Regions from separate parts of the Homo sapiens genome. Here all the other regions are linked to region 2. The links are contacts of gene promoters, found by promoter capture Hi-C in human tissues and cell types (Jung and others, 2019). All regions are on one chromosome and are shown on one strand. Each heading gives the region's core, a stretch centred on a gene start or on the middle of the fragment in contact. The rest is flanking DNA. Distances are from core to core; before and after follow the strand shown. Region 1 has its middle 17 kb from the start of ZNF700. Region 2 holds the start of ZNF878 (zinc finger protein 878). Region 3 has its middle 52 kb from the start of ZNF44.

Evidence for each region. Contacts are between HindIII fragments. The study calls those that stand out against the background at their distance.
Region 1: a fragment that was not itself captured here is called in contact with the fragment with the promoter of ZNF878 in region 2 in 1 of the 25 tissues and cell types used here (mesenchymal stem cells).
Region 3: a fragment that was not itself captured here is called in contact with the fragment with the promoter of ZNF878 in region 2 in 1 of the 25 tissues and cell types used here (lymphoblastoid cells).

What each region holds. Positions count from the first base shown.
Region 1 is chr19:11,906,849-11,909,548 of GRCh38, forward strand. It overlaps a transcript of ZNF69 not described here. Among named protein-coding and RNA genes, the nearest start is that of ZNF700, 17 kb to the right of the region's middle. The HindIII fragment of the contact is 5,350 bases long and covers 1-2,700 here.
Region 2 is chr19:12,051,668-12,054,367 of GRCh38, forward strand. It overlaps ZNF878 (zinc finger protein 878), which reads right to left and starts at 1,294. Exons shown (of 4, transcript NM_001080404.3): 1 at 1,132-1,294. The coding sequence starts at 1,134. RefSeq lists a silencer at 890-939 and an enhancer at 1,128-1,633. The HindIII fragment of the contact is 7,236 bases long and covers 1-2,700 here.
Region 3 is chr19:12,241,019-12,243,761 of GRCh38, forward strand. It overlaps a transcript of ZNF44 not described here. Among named protein-coding and RNA genes, the nearest start is that of ZNF44, 52 kb to the right of the region's middle. The HindIII fragment of the contact is 7,661 bases long and covers 1-2,743 here.

The DNA.
Region 1 (2,700 bases), core at 191-2,690, 140 kb before region 2:
TTCAGATGATCGGTAATAACAAACTTCTCCAAGCTAAAGGAGGATGTTCGAACCCATCACAAAGAAGCTAAAAACCTTGAAAAAAGATTAGACAAAATGGCTAACTAGAATAAACAGTGTAGAGAAGACCTTAAATGACCCGATGGAGCTGAAAACCATGGCACGAGAACTATGTGATGCATGCACAAGCTTCAGTAGCTGATTCAATCAAGTGGAAGAAAAGGTATCAGTAATTGAAGATCAAATGGATGAAATGAAGTGAGAAGAGAAGTTTAGAGAAAAAAGAGTAAAAAGAAATGAAAAAGCCTCCAAGAAATATGGGACTATGTGAAAAGACCAAATCTATGTCTGATTGGTGTACCTGAAAGTGACAGGGATGGAACCAAGTTGGGAAACACTCTTCAGGATATTATTCAGGAGAACTTCCCCAACCTAGCAAGGCAGACCAACATTCAAATTCAGGAAATACAGAGAACGCCACAAAGATACTCCTCGAGAGGAGCAACTCCAAGACACATAATTGTCAGATTCACCAAAGTTGAAATGAAGGAAAAAATGTTAAGGGCAGCCAGAGAGAAAGGTCGGGTTACCCACAAAGGGAAGCCCGTCAGACTAACAGCGGATCTCTTGGCAGAAACTCTACAAGCCAGAAAAGAGTGGGGGCCAATATTCAACATTCTTAAAGGAAAGAATTTTCAACCCAGAATTTCATATCCAGCCATACTAAGCTTCATAAGTGAAGGAGAAATAAAATCCTTTACAGATTCAAATGCTGAGAGATTTTGTCACCACCAGGCCTGCTGTAAAAGATCTCCTGAAGGAAGCACTAAACATGGAAAGGAACAACCGGTACCAGCCACTGCAAAAACATGCCAAATTGTAAAGACCATTGAGGCTAGGAAGAAACTGTATCAACTAACGAGCAAAATAACCAGTTAACATCATAATGACTGGATCAAATTCACACATAACAATATTAACCTTCAATGTAAATGGGCTAAATGCTCCAATTAAAAGACACAGACTGGCAAATTGGATAAAGAATCAAGACCCATCAGTGTGCTGTATTCAGGAGACCCATCTCACGTGCAGAGACATACATAGGCTCAAAATAAAGGGATGGAGGAAGATCTACCAAGCAAATGGAAAACAAACAAAAAAAGCAGGGGTTGCAATCCTAGTCTCTGATAAAACAGACTTTAAACCAACAAAGATCAAAAGAGACAAGGCCATTACATAAAGGTAAAGGGATCAATTCAACAAGAAGAGCTAACTATCCTAAATATTTATGCACCCAATACAGGAGCACTGAGATGCATAAAGCAAGTCCTTAGAGACCTACAAAGAGACTTAGACTCCCACACAATAATAATGGGAGACTTTAACATCCCACTGTCAACATTAGACAGATCAATGAGACAGAAAGTTAACAAGGATATACAGGAATTGAACTCAGCTCTGCACCAAGAGGACCTAATAGACATCTACAGAACTCTCCACCCCAAATCAACAGAATATACATTCTTCTCAGCACCACATCACACTTATTCCAAAATTGACCACATAGTTGGAAGTAAAGCACTCCTCAGCAAATGTAGAAGAATAGAAATTATAACAAACTGTCTCTCGGACCACAGAGCAATCAAACTAGAACTCAGGATTAAGAAACTCACTCTAAACCACTCAAATACATGGAAACTGAACAACCTGCTCCTGAATGACTACTGGGTACATAACAAATGAAGGCAGAAATAAAGATGTTCTTTGAAACCAATGAGAACAAAGACACAACATACCAGAATCTCTGGGACACATTTAAAGCAGTTTGTAGAGGGAAATTTATAGCACTAAATGCCCACAGGAGAAAGCAGGAAAGATGTAAAATTGACACCCTAACATCACAATTAAAAGAACTAGAGAGGCAAGAGCAAACACATTCAAAAGCTAGCAGAAGGCAAGAAATAACTAAGATCAGAGCAGAACTGAAGGAGACAGAGACAGAAAAAACCCTTCAAAAAATCAGTGAATCCAGGAGCTGTTTTTTTGAAAAGATCAACAAAATTGATAGACCGCCAGCAAGACTAATAAAGAAGAAAAGAGAGAAGAATCAAATAGATGCAATAAAAAATGATAAAGGGGATATCACCACCGATCCCACAGAAATACAAACTACCATCAGAGAGTACTATAAATACCTCTATGGAAATAAACTAGAAAATCTAGAAGAAATGGATAAATTCCTGGACACATACACCCTCCCAAGACTAAACCAGGAAGAAGTCGAATCCCTGAATAGACCAATAACAGGCTCTGAAATTGAGGCAATAATTAATAGACTACCAACCAAAAAAAGTCAAGGACCAGATGGATTCACAGCTGAATTCTACCAGAGGTACAAAGAGGAGCTAGTACCATTCCTTCTTAAACTATTCCAATCAATAGAAAAAGAGGGAATCCTCCCTAACTCATTTTATGAGGCCAGCAACATCCTGATACCAAAGCCTGGCAGAGACACAACAAAAAGAATTTTAGACCAATATACCTGATGAACATCGATGCAAAAATCCTCAATAAAATACTGGCAAACCAAATCCAGCAGCACATCAAAAAGCTTATCCACCACGATCAAGTTGGCTTCATCCCTGGGATGCAAGGCTGATTCAACATATGCAAAGCAATAAACGTAATCCATCATATAAA
Region 2 (2,700 bases), core at 44-2,543:
AGGCCGAAGTGGGCGGATCACAAAGTCAGGAGGAGTTCAAGACCAGCCTGGCCAATATGGTGAAACCCGTTTCTACTAAAAATACAAAAATTAGCCGGGCGTGGTGGCTGGCGCCTGTAGTCCCAGCTACTCGGGAGGCTGAGGCAAGAGAATCGCTTGAACCCGGGAGGCGGAGGTTGCAGTGAGCCGAGATGGCGCCACAGCACTTCAGCCTGGGGCGACGGAGCGAGACTCCGTCTCAAAAATATAAAAATCTGGTAAAATAAAAACAGGTCTTTTGGGGAAGGGGGCGGGGACTGGGATGGAATAACGTGGCAGATAACAGCCCTCCTTCCTACAGCCTCCAAATTTTAGACAAAGCTTTACACACTCTCAACCAACTGCCACCTACAGAATCCCTCCACCACCTGTGCCTTCTAACCCCGCTTCCATGTGTCCCGCCTTTCGGCCAAAGGAACTTACACCTTCCCGGCACTGATTCATCATTTTCCTGCAATTCCTGTCTCCCTGAAATGAATAAAACCAAACTGTCAGGAGCTGCCTCGGGATTGCTTACTCCAGACTTCGCGGGGTTGTGTTTCCCTCAGCCGAGGTCTCTCCTATTCGGCTCAGAATAAACTTATTCTACACGATTTGGGTTTTTCCGTTACCAAACCACAAGCCAGGACTGGGAGTTTCTCATTCATTAATCGCTGTTTGCTAAAATAAACTCTCATTTTTTAACAGTGCCTCAGTTTAATTTTTAACTGGAAAAAAAAAGGAACTGGGGACCCCACAGCCCACAGCTCCTCCCACACGAACCCCACACCCGAGGCAGGATCCCCCATGACCCTTCCATGGTCACCGCACAATCTGGGGAGACGCGGGGCTGCGGGCGCGGAGCTGCTCAGAGAGGGAGCCGGGGCCGGGGCCGCAGTCGCCGCGCAGGGACCGGACAGGACGCCCGGGGTCCCGGCTGCCGGCCCAGCTCCACCCAGCGGCCGAGGGGACCGAGGGCCGAGCTGCGCTAGGGGGACTGTGTCTGGAGCCCAGAGTCGCTGCAGGGGGGCCCGGGCCCCGCCACAGCGGGTTCCTCTCGGTTCCACCCAGTCCCTCCTTTCGCCTTGGGACTCCCCAGCACCGCATGCTCACCATTTCCTGGCTTCCAGGTATTCTGGCGTCCTCTCTAAAGGTCCCGTGAACAGTGCAGGTCACAGCGCAGTCGACAGAGCAACAGCAGCTACGGCGGAAGTAACTGGTCCCTCTCGGAGCAAGAAAGCCCCAGACCTTAACTAGCGCGAGCAGCCCTAGGAGTGAAGAGAGCGGGAATGCAACCTCCCCTTCCCTGGAGGACAGTGGCAGGGCCCCGCCCTAGCGCCCCTGATTGGATAGGGGTCTAGACTCCGCCCCCTTCCCTGAGTGACAGCAGAAGCCCCGGGTAACTGGGCGCTGCAGAGCCGAAGCGACTGGTTCTGGCCACACTTTCCAAGGTCAGCTCCCTCCCTCCCTCCCACCTTTACTTCGAATATTTGCCTTCGGCCAAACTTGCTCCGAACTGCTAGAAGGGACACTGTTGTCTTCCTCACTCCGTGGGCCGTCCCTGCCCCTTCATCCTACACGGGACACAAGTGTGCAGGGAATTCCAGATTCAGTGTCCACAAAATGTGAAAGACATTAAAATATTTTGCCCCAAGATATTGCCCTGCCAAAATATATTTCTTTGACAGTTTTGAAATGGCTGCTGCTTGGCCAGCAAACAAAAGGTGGCCTTGCAAAACTGTCTTTTGAGGGGGAAATTTACATTTGTAGAGAATCTCCGTTAATGAAGCACTGCCAGCTCCCCCGTTCTTTTCCTTTCCCTGATCTAAAAGCTATTGAGAGTTTGACACCTTTAAAATCTGAAGAGAGGTAGCACATGGTGACTCATGTCTATAATCCCACCACATTGGCAAACTGAGGCGGAAGGATCCCTTGAAGCAAGGAGTTTGAGGCCAACATCATCAACACAGCGAGATCCCTGTCTTTCTTTCTTTTTTTTTTTTTTTTTTAGACAGTCTCGATCTGTCGCCCAGGCTGGAGCACAGTGGCACGAGATCTTGGCTCACTGCAACCTCCGCCTCCCAGGTTCAAGCGATTCTCCTGCCCCAGCCTCCCAAATAGCTGGGATTACAGACATGCGCCACCACGCCCCGCTAATTTTGTATTTTTAGTAGAGACGGGGTTTCTCCATGTTGGTCAGGCTGGTCTCGAACTCACGACCTCAGGTGATCCGCCCGCCTCGGCCTCCTAAAGTGCTGGGATTACAGGCGTGAGCCACCTCGCCCGCCGATCCCTGTCTTTATTATTTAAAATTTTTTTAAATGGCCGGGCGCTGGCCGGGCGCAGTGGCTCACGCCTGTAATCCCAGCACTTTGGGAGACCGAGGTGGGCGGATCACGAGGTCAGGAGATCGAGACCATCCTGGCTAATACGGTGAAACCCCGTCTCTACTAAAAATACAAAAAAAAAATTAGCCGGGCGTGGTGGTGGGCGCCTGTAGTCCCAGCTACTCGGGAGGCTGAGGCAGGAGAATGGCGAGAACACGGGAGGTGGAGCTTGTAGTGAGCAGAGATCGCACCACTGTACTCCAGCCTGGGCCACAGAGCAAGACTGTGTCTCAAAAAAACAAAACAAAACAAAACAAAAAACCAGTGGCCGGGCGCAGTGAGACCAGGTCTCTAC
Region 3 (2,743 bases), core at 84-2,583, 190 kb after region 2:
ATTAATACCCAAAATACATAGGAACTCCTACAACTCAACAAAACAAACCAATGAGCCCATTCAAAAATGAGTGAGGGACTTGAAAACATTTGTACAAAGATATATAAATGGCCAACAACCACATGGAATAATGCTCATTACCACTGGTGATTAGGGAAATGTAAATCAAAACACCAGTGACAGTTCACAACTGTTGGAATGGCTGCCATTTAAAACAAAAAGTAGAATATAACCAGGGTTGGTGAGCATGCATAGAAACTGCAGTCCTTGTGTATTGCTGGGGAGAATTTTACACACAGCCACTGTGAAAAACAGTATGGCTATACATGAACATAGAAAACCCTGTGACCCAGCAATTCCACTCCTAGGTATGTATCTAAAAGAATAGAGGCCAGGCACGGTGGCTCACACTTGTAATCCCAGTACTCTGGGAGGCCAAAGTGGGTGGATCACCAGAGGTCAGGAGTCCAAGACCAGCCTTCCTGGCCAACATGGTGAAACCCTGTCTCTACTAAAAATACAAAAAGTTAGCTGGGCATAGTGGCAGACACCTGTAATCACAGCCACTCAGGAGGCTGAGACAGGAGAAACACTTGAACCTGGGAGGTGGAGGTTTCAGTGAGCCAAGATCGCACCACTGCACTCCAGCCTGGGCAACAGAGCGAGACTCCGTTGCAATCAATCAACCATGGAAAGCAGGGACTCAGACACATACGCACTGATTTTAGAGCAGTATTCAGAGTAGTCAAAAGAGTTTTGTGGAAACAACCCAAGTGCTCAACATATGGATGGATAAACAAAGTGTGGTGTATCCAATATACCACACTTGGGAATATTATTCAGGCACAAAAACTGAATTACTGGTACATGCTAACATGTGGATGAACCTTGAAAACATTATGCTAAGTGAAATAAGCCAGACACATAAGGACAAATACTGCATGCTTCTACTTACATGACGCACCTAGAATCAGCAAATTCATAGAGCAAGAAAGGAAAATAGAGATTACCAAGGGATGGGGATGGGAGGAATAGGGAATGGTTGTTTAATGGGTACCAATTTTTTTTTGGACTAATGAAAAAATTCTGGAACTAGCTAGCTAGCTGTGATGGTTCTAAAGCACTGTTAATGTATTTAATGCTACTGAATGGCATACTTACAATGGTAAATTCTATGTTACTATATTTGACCTTAAAAAAAATTAAAGGCCGGGTGCGGTGGCTCACGCCTGTAATCCCAGCACTTTGGGAGGCCGAGGTGGGCAGATCACATGAGGTCAGGAGTTCAAGGACCATCCTGGCTAACACAGTGAAACCCTGTCTCTACTAAAAATACAAAAAATTAGCCGGGCGTGGTGGTGGGCACCTGTAGTCCTAGCTACTCGGGAGGCTGAGGCAGGAGAATAGCGTGAACCTGGGAGGCGGAGCTTGCAGTGAGCCGAGATTGCACTACTGCACTCCAGCCTGGGTGACAGAGCGAGACTCCGGCTCAAAAAAAAAAAAAAATTAAAAACTGGCCAGGCACATTGGCACACGGCTCACACCTGTAATCCCAGCACTTCGAGAGGCCAAGGCAGGAAGATCCCTTGAGCCCAGGAAACCTGTCTGGGCAATATAGTAAGACCTATATAGTAAGACCTTGTCTCTCCAAAAAAAAAAAAAAAAAAAAATATGATTTAAAAAATTACCTGGGCATGGTAGTGTGCACCTGTAGTCCCAGCTATTCAGGAGGCTGAGGTGGGAGGATCATTTGCTTGGGAGGCAGCAGTTTCAGTGAGCCAAGAGAACACTACTGAACTCCAGCCTGGGTGACAGGGAGACCCTGTCTGAAAGAAAAAAAATTAAAAACTAAAGACACAATTTGAGCTACTAGAAAGGAAAACAACAATGCCTGGTATAAAATATGCACTGGATTGAATAACCAGATCAGATATTTCAGGAAGAAATTAAGACCCAGCAATAGAAATGACATAATTTTAAATACATGCACTTAACAAATTGCCAAAATACGTCATGCAAGAACACACAGAACTGCAAGGTGACACAGAAAAATTCACAGTTAACTGAAGACTTCAACACTTCTCAGTAATACAAAGATCCAACAGGCGTAGATTCAGTAAACATTCCTTTTTTATTTTAAAATACTTCACAAAGATTGTATATGTTCATGATGTACAGTTATGTTTTGATGTATATATATACATTCTGTAATGGTTACCACAGTCAAATTAACACATTGATGACCACCCATGCTGTACATTAAATCTCCAGAACGTGTTCACCTTACAACTTGGTTTTTAACCTTTGACCAACATTTCTCCATTTTCCCTACCTTCTGGACTCTAGTAACCACCGTTCCTCCCTCTGCCTCGGAGTTTAAGTTTTTAATATTCCACAATTAAGTGGGATCATGAAGTATTTGCCTATGTCTGCCTTATTTTATAGTGTCCACCAGGTTTATTCATGTGACAAATGTCAGGATTTCCTTTTTACGGCTGAGTAATATTCTGTTTAAATATACATCACACTTTCTTTATTCATCCATTAATGGATGCTAAGTTTGTTTCCATATGTTGACTATTGTGAATAATGCTGTAATGAACATATGCGAGTGGCAGATATCTCTTTGAAATACTGATCACTGCCTTTGGTCATATATGCATATACCCAGGAGTGAGACTGTTGGATCACATGGTAGTTTTTGTTTTTTTTTGCAGAACCTCCATATTGTTTTTCACAATGG